Linked DNA regions of Homo sapiens: all the other regions are linked to region 2. Evidence: promoter capture Hi-C in 16 types of primary human blood cells and fetal thymus (Javierre and others, 2016). All regions are on one chromosome and are shown on one strand. Each heading gives the region's core, a stretch centred on a gene start or on the middle of the fragment in contact. The rest is flanking DNA. Distances are from core to core; before and after follow the strand shown. Region 1 has its middle 20 kb from the start of MORF4L2. Region 2 holds the start of SLC25A53 (solute carrier family 25 member 53). Region 3 has its middle 17 kb from the start of RAB9B. Region 4 overlaps PLP1 (proteolipid protein 1).

Region 1 (2,700 bases), core at 87-2,586, 490 kb after region 2:
TTAGAGCCGCTTGGTTATTTCCTTTGGAAACCTGGCTTTGATTTCATATCTGTTATATGTTAATGCCTAAGAGGAAACTTTTAATTTAACATTCTGTCATGGAAATTTAAACCAACTAGTCCCTGAGTCCTGGAAGATCACAGTATAACATTAGAATTTTTTTTTAAGGTAGAGTGGGGGAGAGTGTGGGTTTTGGAGTGTGACAGACCTGGGTTTGAATCCAAGCTCTCAAACTTACTAGATTTAGGGCCTTGGAATATATACTCAACCTCTGAGTTCCATTTACTTCTTTGTTTAGGGAAGATACGGCTGCCTACCTTGGTAGAAAACAATTCTGCCTGCCTACAGAATTATGAGAATTAAAGAGAGAACCAACTTAAAACATGAAACACTTCATCTGGCCCATAGTGGACACTCAAACAAATATTAGTTCCCTTCCTATTCTGCTTCCTCCCTTCCTTGAAAGTTATGCCTTTGACATTCTTTACTTTATAAAGAACATTTGCAAAGGTAATAACAAGAAGGGGAAAACGCAGGTATGATCTTCAGTGCCATTTCTGTATTCCAGAATGAGCTGTCTGATGGATCCTACAGGAAAAGGAACAATATCATCATACCATTTTCATTTTGGGAGTTACACATCCAGTGAAGTTGAAAGTAGGGGGCAACAATAATCAAGCTATTTAACTGTTTCATGTGTTTTCCTGAAACTTAATTTTAGCTTATAGGTTAAAAATCAATAAAGCATATGTACTTAGAGCTCCAGAACTTTAGAATGAGAGTTCCAGTGCCAAACCCTTTAATAGCTACTGGGCCTGGTGAGATCTTTCCCCCTTCTCTGACTTCACCTATCAGAGATGGAAAAAAAACCCACAACAACAACAACAACAACAACAACAAAAAACAGCTGATATTTATTACTTACTATGTGTTGACATTAAATGGACTATGTAATAATTTATGTAAACCTCACAACAACCCTAAGAGGAAGTAATGGAATTATCCCCATTTTACAAGAGGCACAGAGGCCAAGGACACACAGCTAAGAGTGGCAGATCTGGGATTTGAACCCAGTTAGTGACTACTCTTGACAGCTGTTAGCTACTGTACTATCCTGGCTCTCTGAAAAGGAGCAGGTTTTGAGAAATGTGAAACATGAGATCTCATTTGTGAAAGCACCATGATTGTATAACAGGCCTACCTAAAAGCTGATGTCAAAACAAGATTAGACATAAATAGATTTACTGGGGAAACACAATAGATAAAGGGAGAAAGAGCAAGAGAAGATGGGGAGAGCCTTTAGACTGTGATCCACATGTCACATCTGTGAAAGCAGAGGGAAGGAAGAAGAATTAGGTAGAAAGAGTCCCAGACTTCAGTTCATTTGAGAAGCTATGGACCAGGCCAATGGGGAGTACAAGCAAAGATTAAAAGTCTCCCATTGAGCAGAAATGGCATGGCTCTAGTGGCTCAGCTGTGCTAAGTCATGGTGTGGGAGCAGTCTGGGAAAAGTGTGTCCTTAGCACGAATCATGAATGTAAGGGTAGACTGACTCAGTGACTGCTTCCTTGCTGTCCACTTACCTTCTGCTGACTCAACCCTGAAAATTTTGCAAAGACCCTGAGCCTGATCCCTTCTATGCTGCCCCACCAGAGGGGCTCACACTCTTTTGCACTGTCTCCTAAGAGCAGGGGGATCCTGGTTAGCACAGAGCTCTCTCTCCAAGGTTCTGGCTGTTCCGTGCTTTCTGCTCTGGAATTGGCCAGATAAGTCACTGCTTGGATATGCGATTGACATACCAGCCTTCTGTGTGGGTAGGCAGGTGGTGAGGGGCCCACAGAAGCAGGCTCTGGATGCTGCTGACCCTCCACCACCAATGCCTTAAAAAGCATCTTCATACCAATTCACAGCTTGACTGTCCTGGCTCCCAAGTCATGAGCTGGGCCTGCAGTGCATGGGGATTTTCAGATAGAAAGTGACACCCCCTTTCTCCTGAGTTGTAGGACCACATGTCTTTGCAAGTTCCCTTTATCTGGGGTCTTCTGTATTTCTGGGTTTGGGATGACTGAGGCATCAGATGCACTGCACCAGGCAGACACAGAGCTAAAGTCCTTGCAGAACCAACCAAACAGGCCAGGGCACATCAAAGCCCTTCTGGGAGTCTGAGCAAGGTGGGTGGGAGACGGATGGGTGAGGTTTTGTGTGCCCCAGTCTTCTTGGGGGCTAACTGGACTCTGAGAGAAGGGTCAGCCCCTTCTGCTTCAACCTCAAGTTACCTGGTCAGATCTGTTCAGACATCTGCTTGCTCAAAGACTATCCCAATGAATGTTTCCTGCCAGGACACTTTGGGGCTTTATCTCCTCCCCTACAAAATGTTCCCCAAAAGAGAGAGGGGAAAGGAGGGAAAGGCAAAGTGTTCTGACCTGCAATAGGGCAGTCGGTTCTCCTCCTCCAGGTGTGTCTGTGCAGGGCAGCTTGGCCATTAGCCTAAAAGGGCCCTGTGCCTGCTGCAGGCAGAGAAACAAAAGTCAGACCCACCCCAGAGGGGAATGTGGCCTGAGTGAGCCCTTCCACCTCCTGCCTAAGCACCACCACTCTTAGCGTTAGGGGGATGGATTTATCCTCTCTTATAAAACTAATTCCAGTGAGCCTGGAACCTGATCTCACTCCAGACAGAATTCCAGTTTGACTAACACCCAT
Region 2 (2,700 bases), core at 184-2,683:
ACGGTGGGATGAGGTGAAGGCCCTGTACCTTTATCCCCAGTGGTCTTCAGTACTATAGGAAGTAATGGGGCCTGTGTGGCACAGTGGAGGGCAATGAGTGAGCTGGTTATGCCAATTCCTACTATAGTCACCTCCTTGGCTGCCAGCCTTCAAGGGAGAGATCTTTGCCTTAGTGGGTTCTGCCCTTCTGCTTCTGAAGAGAACCTAGTCTTTCTGTATGGGCATTCAGGCAATTCTTGGGGTGGGGAGTTGGGGGAGAGAGAGCACTTGAAAAGAATTTATGGTGGCCTTTTTCTCAGTGATATTTGAGAAATACCAAGACACATCTGAATGTATCTGAGTTTAAGTCTTGGCTCTATTTGTTATTAGCTCTGTGACCGTGGGCAAGTTATTGATTTATATGCAATCTGACTAATCTGAGTTTTCTTAGCTGCTTTAAGCAGACAAAGAGGACAGGAAAGGGTAATACACTTAAGAACCAGCAAAGGGCTATTGTGAGGATGAAGCAATAACAACAAAATGGGTTTAAAGCACTTATCATAGTGCGTGGTCCATAGAACTGCAAACGTTGGATTTTGCTTATTTTAGGACAGTACAAAGAGACTCTTTAATATACTCTTCTGACTCCAGCCAGAGTGGTAGTAATTTCCATATCAGCAGTCCCTAGAATCAGGTATTACAGCCTCAGCCTGGAGAGAACAGGGCAATCCCCTCTATCCCAGGTGAAATGATTATTATCATTTATTATTTATTAGCCAGAGGTCTTAGGTGAGATCAAATTCAATCATTATAATTTATATTTCAATATACTGCTTAACTTCATGATAGGCAATGTTCTAGGTGCTCCTCACATGTGAAATTTTAATATTTTTACTGCAACTCTGGAGGTAAGTACTATTATTATACCAATTCTACAGATGAAAAAGCCAAGGAATAGCATGCTTGAATCACTTGCCCAAGATGCCATGTTTAGATAGTGGTACAGTGGGGATTCGAACGCGGGAGCTCAGGTTTCAAAGTCTGTGCTCTTTACATATGCAGCTAAAGAGTCAGACAAGAACCAAAAGGAGATGGAGAATAGAGGGTAGAAAGGGCACAGGTTCAAGGTGAAAGGTCAGAAACTGCAAATTCGGAGTTTGGGTTGGTCTAGCAGCTTAAAGGCGTCATCATGAACTGTTCACCTAAGTAAGTTAAGCTCCTGTTTGAGAATGACTGATAAGCTTGCAAGCCAACTTACAAACAAACTGGGGAAATGTTCCAATAGATGACTAAGTCTTTTAGGTCTTTTTACCTGTGTTTTTCGGTCTCTATACCAGATTAGTCGCCTGGCTCTCCCAAACAGACCGGCCAACTGACGTAGTCGCGAAACGGTTAATGTCGAGGCGGGGGCGGGGGAGGCGGAAATAAAGAGAGCGGAAGCAAAGAGGATTGTGGGAGCTCCGTTGTGCGTCGCTTAAGTGAGGGCGGCGGATGGGCGAAGGTCCGGTGACTGCGACTGTCGCTGCTTTCTGAGGCCACAGGAAAGGGGCCGTCGGTCGCCGCCATGACAGCGAGCGAGGCGGAGGTTTGTAGCACTTCTTATGGGCTGAGGGCGTAGACACATCCTGCTTCCAGCCTAGCAGGCAAACGGGAACGGAAGTGATAGGGGATCAGAAGTTGCGAGGGGATGAGGAGTAGGGGAAACTGACAAGCGGACGGACCCGGCGGCGAGAATTGATGGCGTAGCTGTAGGATTAAGGGGCGTGTCAACTGTGTTGTGTGTGTTGACACTGAGATGTGTGAATCCCCTCATTATTTTTAGCTGGGGACAGGCGGGGTCTATGGGGGAGGGGGCGGACGGATGAATGGAGGATAAAATCAGGGCGAAAACGTGTTGTCTGCTGGGCACCAGTACATCTGAGTCACATCTCAGCAGGATGATTTTATTGGAAAGATCTAGGTCCCTGGTTTCAGATTCTGCTATTGATGCGTTGATTGATTTCCCTTACCAAAATACCAAGTACCTGCTCTGTGCTGGGTACTGCACTAGAGGCTCCGGATGAGGAAAGGAATTAGGCTTTTTCCTCGACATTTACAGCCTGCCGGTTGCTATCTGCATTTGGAGACAGGCTATTACAATACAAGGAGACAGAGATAGATCCTGTGTTATGAAAATCTATTGGGTGCCACCGAACTCATCTGGGAGTTGAGATCTGGGACGGCTCTTTGATGCGGTGATTTAACATATATTTTGAAGACAAAATAAGCAGGGCAAAAACGAAGTGCAATTTTCCTCCAAGCACCTTCCCTCCCTGTTGAGGTGAACTGGAGAACTGAGTAGCATTTAAGGCCCAAAATTAGTGTATTTCTTTTTTTTTTTCTTTCTTTCTTTCTTTTTTTTTTTTTTGATAAGGAGTCTCTCTACTTCTGTCGCCCAGGCTGGAATGCAGTGGCGTGATCTCCGCTCACTGCAACCTCCGTCTGCCGGGTTCAAGTGATTCTCCTGCCTCAGCCTCCCGGGTTGCTGGGATTAGAGGCACCCACCACCACTCCCGGCTAATTTTTATATTTTTATATTTTTAGTAGAGACGGGGTTTTACCATGTTGGCCAGGTTGGCCTCGAACTCCTGACCTCAAGTGATCCGCCTGCCTCGGCCTCCCAAAGTGCTGGTATTACAGGCATGAGCCACCGCGCCCGGTCCCCACAACTAGTTTATTTCT
Region 3 (2,700 bases), core at 163-2,662, 340 kb after region 2:
CAGCATCTGTTGTTTCCTAACTTTGTAATGATTGCCATTCTAACTGGCTTGAGAAGGTATCTCATTGTGGTTTTGATTTGCATTTCTCTAATGACCAGTGATGATGAGCATTTTTATATGTATGTTGGCTGAATAAATGTCTTCTTTTGAGAAGTGTCTGTTCATATCCTTCACCCACTTTTTGATGGGGTTGTTTGATTTTTTCTTGTAAATTTGTTTAAATTCTGTATAGATTCTGGATATTAGCCCTTTGTCAGATGGATAGATTGCAAAAATTTTCTCCCATTCTGTAGGTTGCCTGTTCACTCTGATAATAGTTTATTTTTCTGTGCAGAAGCTCTTTAGTTTAATTAGATCCCATTTGTCAATTTTGGCTTTTGTTGCCATTGCTTTTGGTGTTTTAGACTTGAAGTCTTTGCCCATGCCTATGTCCTGAATGGTATTGCTCAGGTTTTTTTCTAGGATGTTTATGGTCCTAGGTCTTACGTTTAAGACTTTAATCCATCTTGAATTAATTTTTGTATAAGGTGTAAGGAAGGGGTCTAGTTTCAGCTTTCCACATATGGCTAGCCAGTTTTCCCAGCACCATTTATTAAATAGGGAATCCTTTCCCCATTTCTTATTTTTGTCAGGTTTGCCAAAGATCAGATGGTGGTAGATGTGTGGTGTTATTTCTGAGACCTCTGTTCTGTTCCATTGGTCTATATATCTGTTTTGGTACCGGTACCATGCTGTTTTGGTTACTGTAGTCTTGTAGTAAAGTTTGAAGTCAGGTAGCTTGATGCCTGCAGCTTTGTTCGTCTTGCCCAGGATTGTCTTGGCTATGCGAGCTCTTTTTTGGTTCCATATGAAGTATAAAGTAGTTTTTTCCAACTCTGTGAAGAAAGTCATTGATAGCTTGATGGGGATAGCATCGAATCTATAAATTACTTTGGGCGGTAAGACCATTTTCATGATATTGATTCTTCATATCCATGTGCGTGGAATGTTTTTCCATTTGTTTGTGTCCTCTCTTATTTCCTTGAGCAGTGGTTTGTAGTTCTTGAAGGGGTCCTTCACATCCTGTGTAAGTTGTATTCCTAGGCACTTTATTCTCTTTGTAGCAATGGTGAATGGGAGTTCACTCATAGTTTGGCTCTCTGTTTGTCTGTTATTGGTGTATAGGAATGCTTGTGATTTTTGCACATTGATTTTGTATCCTTAGACTTTGCTGAAGTTGCTCATCAGCTTGAGAAGATTTTGGGCTGAGACAATGGTGTTTTCTAAATATACAATCATGGCATCTGCAAACAGAGACAATTTGACTTCCTCTCTTCCTATTTGAATACCCTGTATTGCTTTTTCTTGCCTGATTGCCCTGGCCAGAACTTCTAATACTATGTTGAATAGGAGTGGTGAGAGAGGGCATCCTTGTCTTGTGCCAGTTTTCCAAGGGAATGCTTCCTGTTTTTGCCCATTCAGTATGATATTGGCTGTGGGTTTGTCATAAATAGCTCTTATTATTTTGGGATACGTTCCATCGATATTGAGAGTTTTTAGCATGAAATGCTGTTGAATTTTGTCAAAGGACTTTTCTGCATCTATGGATATAATCATGTGGTTTTTATCATTGGTTCTGTTTATGTGATGGATTACCTTTATTGATATGTGTATGTTGAACCAGCCTTGCATCCCAGGGATGAAGCCAACTTGATTGCAGAGGATAAGGTTTTTGATGTGCTGCTGGACTCGGTTTGCCAGTATTTTGTTGAGGATTTTCACATCGATGTTCATCAGGGATACTGGCCTAAAATTCTCTTTTTTTGTTGTGTCTGTCTCTGCCAGGCTTTGGTATCAGGATGATGCTGGTCTCATAAAATGAGTTAGGGAGGATTCCCTCTTTTTCTATTGTTTGTAATAGTTTCAGAAGGAATGGTGCCATCTCCCCTTTGTACCTCTGGTAGAATTCGGCTGTGAATCCATCTAGTCCTGGACTTTTTTTTGGTTGGTAGGCTATTAATTATTGTCTCAATTTCAGAACCTGTTATTGGTCTATTCAGAGATTCAACTTCTTTGTGGTTTGTCTTGGGAGGGTGTATGTGTCCAGGAATTTATCCATTTCTTCTAGATTTTCTAGTTAATTTGCATAGAGGTGTTATAGTATTCTCTGATGGTAGTTTGTATTTCTGTGGGATCAGGGGTGATATCCCATTTATCATTTTTTATTGCGTGTATTTGATTCTTCTCTCTTTTCTTCTTTATTAATCTTGCTAGCAGTCTACCTATTTTGTTGGTCTTTTCAAAAAAACACCTCCTGGATTCATTGATTTTTTTAAGGGTTTTTTGTGTCTCTATCTCCTTCAGTTCTGATCTGATCTTAGTTACTTCTTGTCTTCTGCTAGCTTTTGAATTTGTTTGCTCTTCCTTTTCTAGTTCTTTAAATTGTGATGTTAGGGTGTCGATTTTAGATCTCTCCTGCTTTCTCTTGTGGACATTTAGTGCTATAAATTTCCCTCTAAACCCTGCTTTAAATGTGTCCAGGAGATTCTGGTATGTTGTGCCTTTGTTCTCATTGGTTTCAAAGAACATCTTTATCTCTGCTTTCATTTCGTTATTTACCCAGTAGTCATTCAGGAGCAGGTTGTTCAGTTTCCATGTAGTTGTGCGGTTTTGAGTGAGATTCTTAATCCTGAGTTCTAATTTGATTGCACTGTGGTCTGA
Region 4 (2,656 bases), core at 157-2,656, 370 kb after region 2:
TACACTTGACTGGAAGTCCGATGTCTCTGAGGCATCATGGGTCTCATGGCCCAGGCCCAGAGAATCAAATCATAAAGATTTATTCCACACCTCTGTTTGATCTAGCACTGAGTTTTCCTCAGGGAAGTGAACAATATTTGGGCTTTGCCACATCAATATGTCCGAGTGACTTAGAGTCATAGGGTGCTTGCTGTAGACACACAGCCACATCATGCAGTAGAGCTCTCCCCTGGTTAATGAATCAATTCGTTTTACAAGGTGAGAAATTACTTGACTCTGTATGGAAACCTCAGCAGTAGGGGCCAGGAGTTCTGTGAGCTCATCTTGTCTGATCACTGCTTATAAAATAACTTCAGATAAATCACTTCACCCTTCAGTGCCTTAGGTTTTTAATCTGCACAATGAGCACACTACATTCACAGGGCACTGTAGCACTATCAGCAAGACCTGGGACATAGCATTGTATTATAATCATAACAATTCTAATAATGTTAGGAGGTCCTCCCAGTATTTCCATATGAGTAACTAAATCCACTGGAGAGTATCCAAAGTGGATTCATATTGATAGTATATAGAATTCCAGGCTATAGCAAGTCATGTTTCGTGATGTTTCAGTGTTTTGTCACTGATCTGATCAAAATGTATTGAGAATTAACCGTAATTTATGACTGCAAAGTACTTGGCAACATTACATGTTCTATAAATACTAAATATTATCATTCGTGTCTATGAATCTCTTACCTCTTTCCTCATACCACTTTTCTTGTTCCCATCTAATTTGTGATGTCTTTCTGCCTTGCCAATGCAAGTAGAAGTACGGAGCCTCCACCCTTTGCTATCTTCCCAGAAGCTTCCCTCCAGCATTTCAAGGATGGAAGCAGTCTACCTTCTTGCCTTTCAGAATAGCTGTACCCACACTATCTCAGGCCTATTTACTTGCCAAGATCATTCAAAGTCAACTCACCAGGGAAACCAGTGTAGCTGCAGCCCCCACAAATGCAGCAATAAACAGGTGGAAGGTCATTTGGAACTGCAGGAAAATGAAAGAGGAAGAACTGTTTCTTGCAACAGCAGTAATATGCTCCACTGTAAATCATGAATACAGCTTTCTGAATGTGTTGATATCTTTCTTGTGTGCTAATTCCACATCTCTAACTAAGTTTTCACTTCCCTAAATGTGGGCCTCCCAGTCTTCAGTGTACACCATAGCACCTGGCCCATTAACACCCAGATCACAGAATAGTCATGAAATAGTACAGTACTCCAAAATAATTAACTGGTTCCCTACAGTTGTGCCCAGGGGCCCAAAATTTAAAGTCAACATTTTGCTGTCAAAGAAATAATTTACTGCCTGTCTCCCCCGGATTTACTTTTATTCCCCTGCCTCATTTGTATATAATATCTGTTCTCAATACAGTGCTTTCCCTTTCAAATGTACTTATTTTACCTCTCATTTGAGATAAAGAAGTTCCAAATTGAAAATGTTTTCATAAAACCTATGAATGCCTCTGTGCACAGCCCATTTTCTTGATATGGTTTTTAACTAAAGGAATGAAAATTTTCATGTGGGGGATTTTGCCATTAGGCTCTATCTTTACCTAAAGCTACAAACTTCTCTTTTAAGAGGGGAAGGGTTGGAAAGGAAGTCTTTCTATGCAACTCTAGAGAAAACAGGTGTTTTACCTTCTATGCTCATTGGCTCAGGCACACTTAGCCAACATGTTGTAGAAGGCAATCGGCTAATTCAAAATCCAGCAAAGGGAAACTTTCAGTCCTTAAAATTGAAGGCCATGGGTGTAATTTGTATGGTATTAGCTACTCCCTTGTAAAATAACCCAAATAACCCACTCACCTCAGCTGTTTTGCAGATGGACAGAAGGTTGGAGCCACAAACCTTGCCAGGGAAAGCATTCCATGGGAGAACACCTAAGTAAGACACAAAAAGCAAGCAGGGTAAGCTTTATGGAGTTACGGGGCCACATGGAGACTTTCCCCCAGAGCCCTTCTTCCATCTCTAATTATCCTGGCTGTAAAGTTGGATTCTACCAACAATCAGGATCCTCTTTTCTACAGGTTTACAAAAAAGAGAAGGTGGTATTGAACAGTGGTGAAACCTTGTGTTTGTTATTGAAATGTGCTGCTTTGGGGTTGTGAACAGCAGTCAACTAGAGTAGGCCAATGTGAATGGCCAAGAAAACTCCCACCACTTCCAAGTTCCCTTCCCGGGGAAGAAACCTCTCTGGTTTCAGTAGGGAAGGATTAATAAACTAAGACCCAATCATTCATCATCTTATATTTTTCTCATAATCACCACCCTCCTTACACTAAGAAAATAACCAAATATATAGTGCTTCCATAGTGGGTAGGAGAGCCAAAGCACCCGTACCCTAACTCACCATACATTCTGGCATCAGCACAGAGACTGCCTATACTGGCAGAGGTCTTGCTGGGGAAGGCAATAGACTGGCAGGTGGTCCAGGTGTTGAAGTAAATGTACACAGGCACAGCAGAGCAGGCAAACACCAGGAGCCACACAACGGTCAGGGCATAGGTGATGCCCACAAACTAAAATGATTGACATGGGGTGGTTAGAAATCAGCATCAGCCTGCAGATGTAGAAACACAAACTGGGAGATCCTGGAGTGGCGTGTGCCAG

What was found. The method cuts DNA at HindIII sites, captures the fragments that hold promoters and counts their contacts. A CHiCAGO score of 5 or more calls a contact.
Region 1: a fragment that was not itself captured here is called in contact with the fragment with the promoter of SLC25A53 in region 2 in 1 of 17 cell types (neutrophils); the score reaches 5.7 in neutrophils.
Region 3: a fragment that was not itself captured here is called in contact with the fragment with the promoter of SLC25A53 in region 2 in 2 of 17 cell types (total B cells and naive CD8 T cells); the score reaches 6.7 in total B cells.
Region 4: a contact is called between a fragment that was not itself captured here and the fragment with the promoter of SLC25A53 in region 2, in 2 of 17 cell types (naive B cells and monocytes). The highest score is 5.5, in naive B cells.

Annotation. Positions count from the first base shown.
Region 1 is chrX:103,665,434-103,668,133 of GRCh38, reverse strand. No RefSeq gene overlaps it. Among named protein-coding and RNA genes, the nearest start is that of MORF4L2, 20 kb to the left of the region's middle. The HindIII fragment of the contact is 2,959 bases long and covers 1-2,700 here.
Region 2 is chrX:104,155,742-104,158,441 of GRCh38, reverse strand. SLC25A53 (solute carrier family 25 member 53) reads left to right here and starts at 1,433. Exons shown (of 2, transcript NM_001012755.5): 1 at 1,433-1,564. It also overlaps a transcript of FAM199X not described here. RefSeq lists an enhancer at 1,360-1,659. The HindIII fragment of the contact is 6,927 bases long and covers 1,223-2,700 here.
Region 3 is chrX:103,814,240-103,816,939 of GRCh38, reverse strand. It overlaps a transcript of RAB9B not described here. Among named protein-coding and RNA genes, the nearest start is that of RAB9B, 17 kb to the left of the region's middle. The HindIII fragment of the contact is 4,661 bases long and covers 1-2,700 here.
Region 4 is chrX:103,787,707-103,790,362 of GRCh38, reverse strand. PLP1 (proteolipid protein 1) reads right to left here. Exons shown (of 7, transcript NM_000533.5): 4 at 2,397-2,565; 5 at 1,853-1,926; 6 at 965-1,030. It also overlaps a transcript of RAB9B not described here. Among named protein-coding and RNA genes, the nearest start is that of PLP1, 12 kb to the right of the region's middle. The HindIII fragment of the contact is 1,108 bases long and covers 853-1,960 here.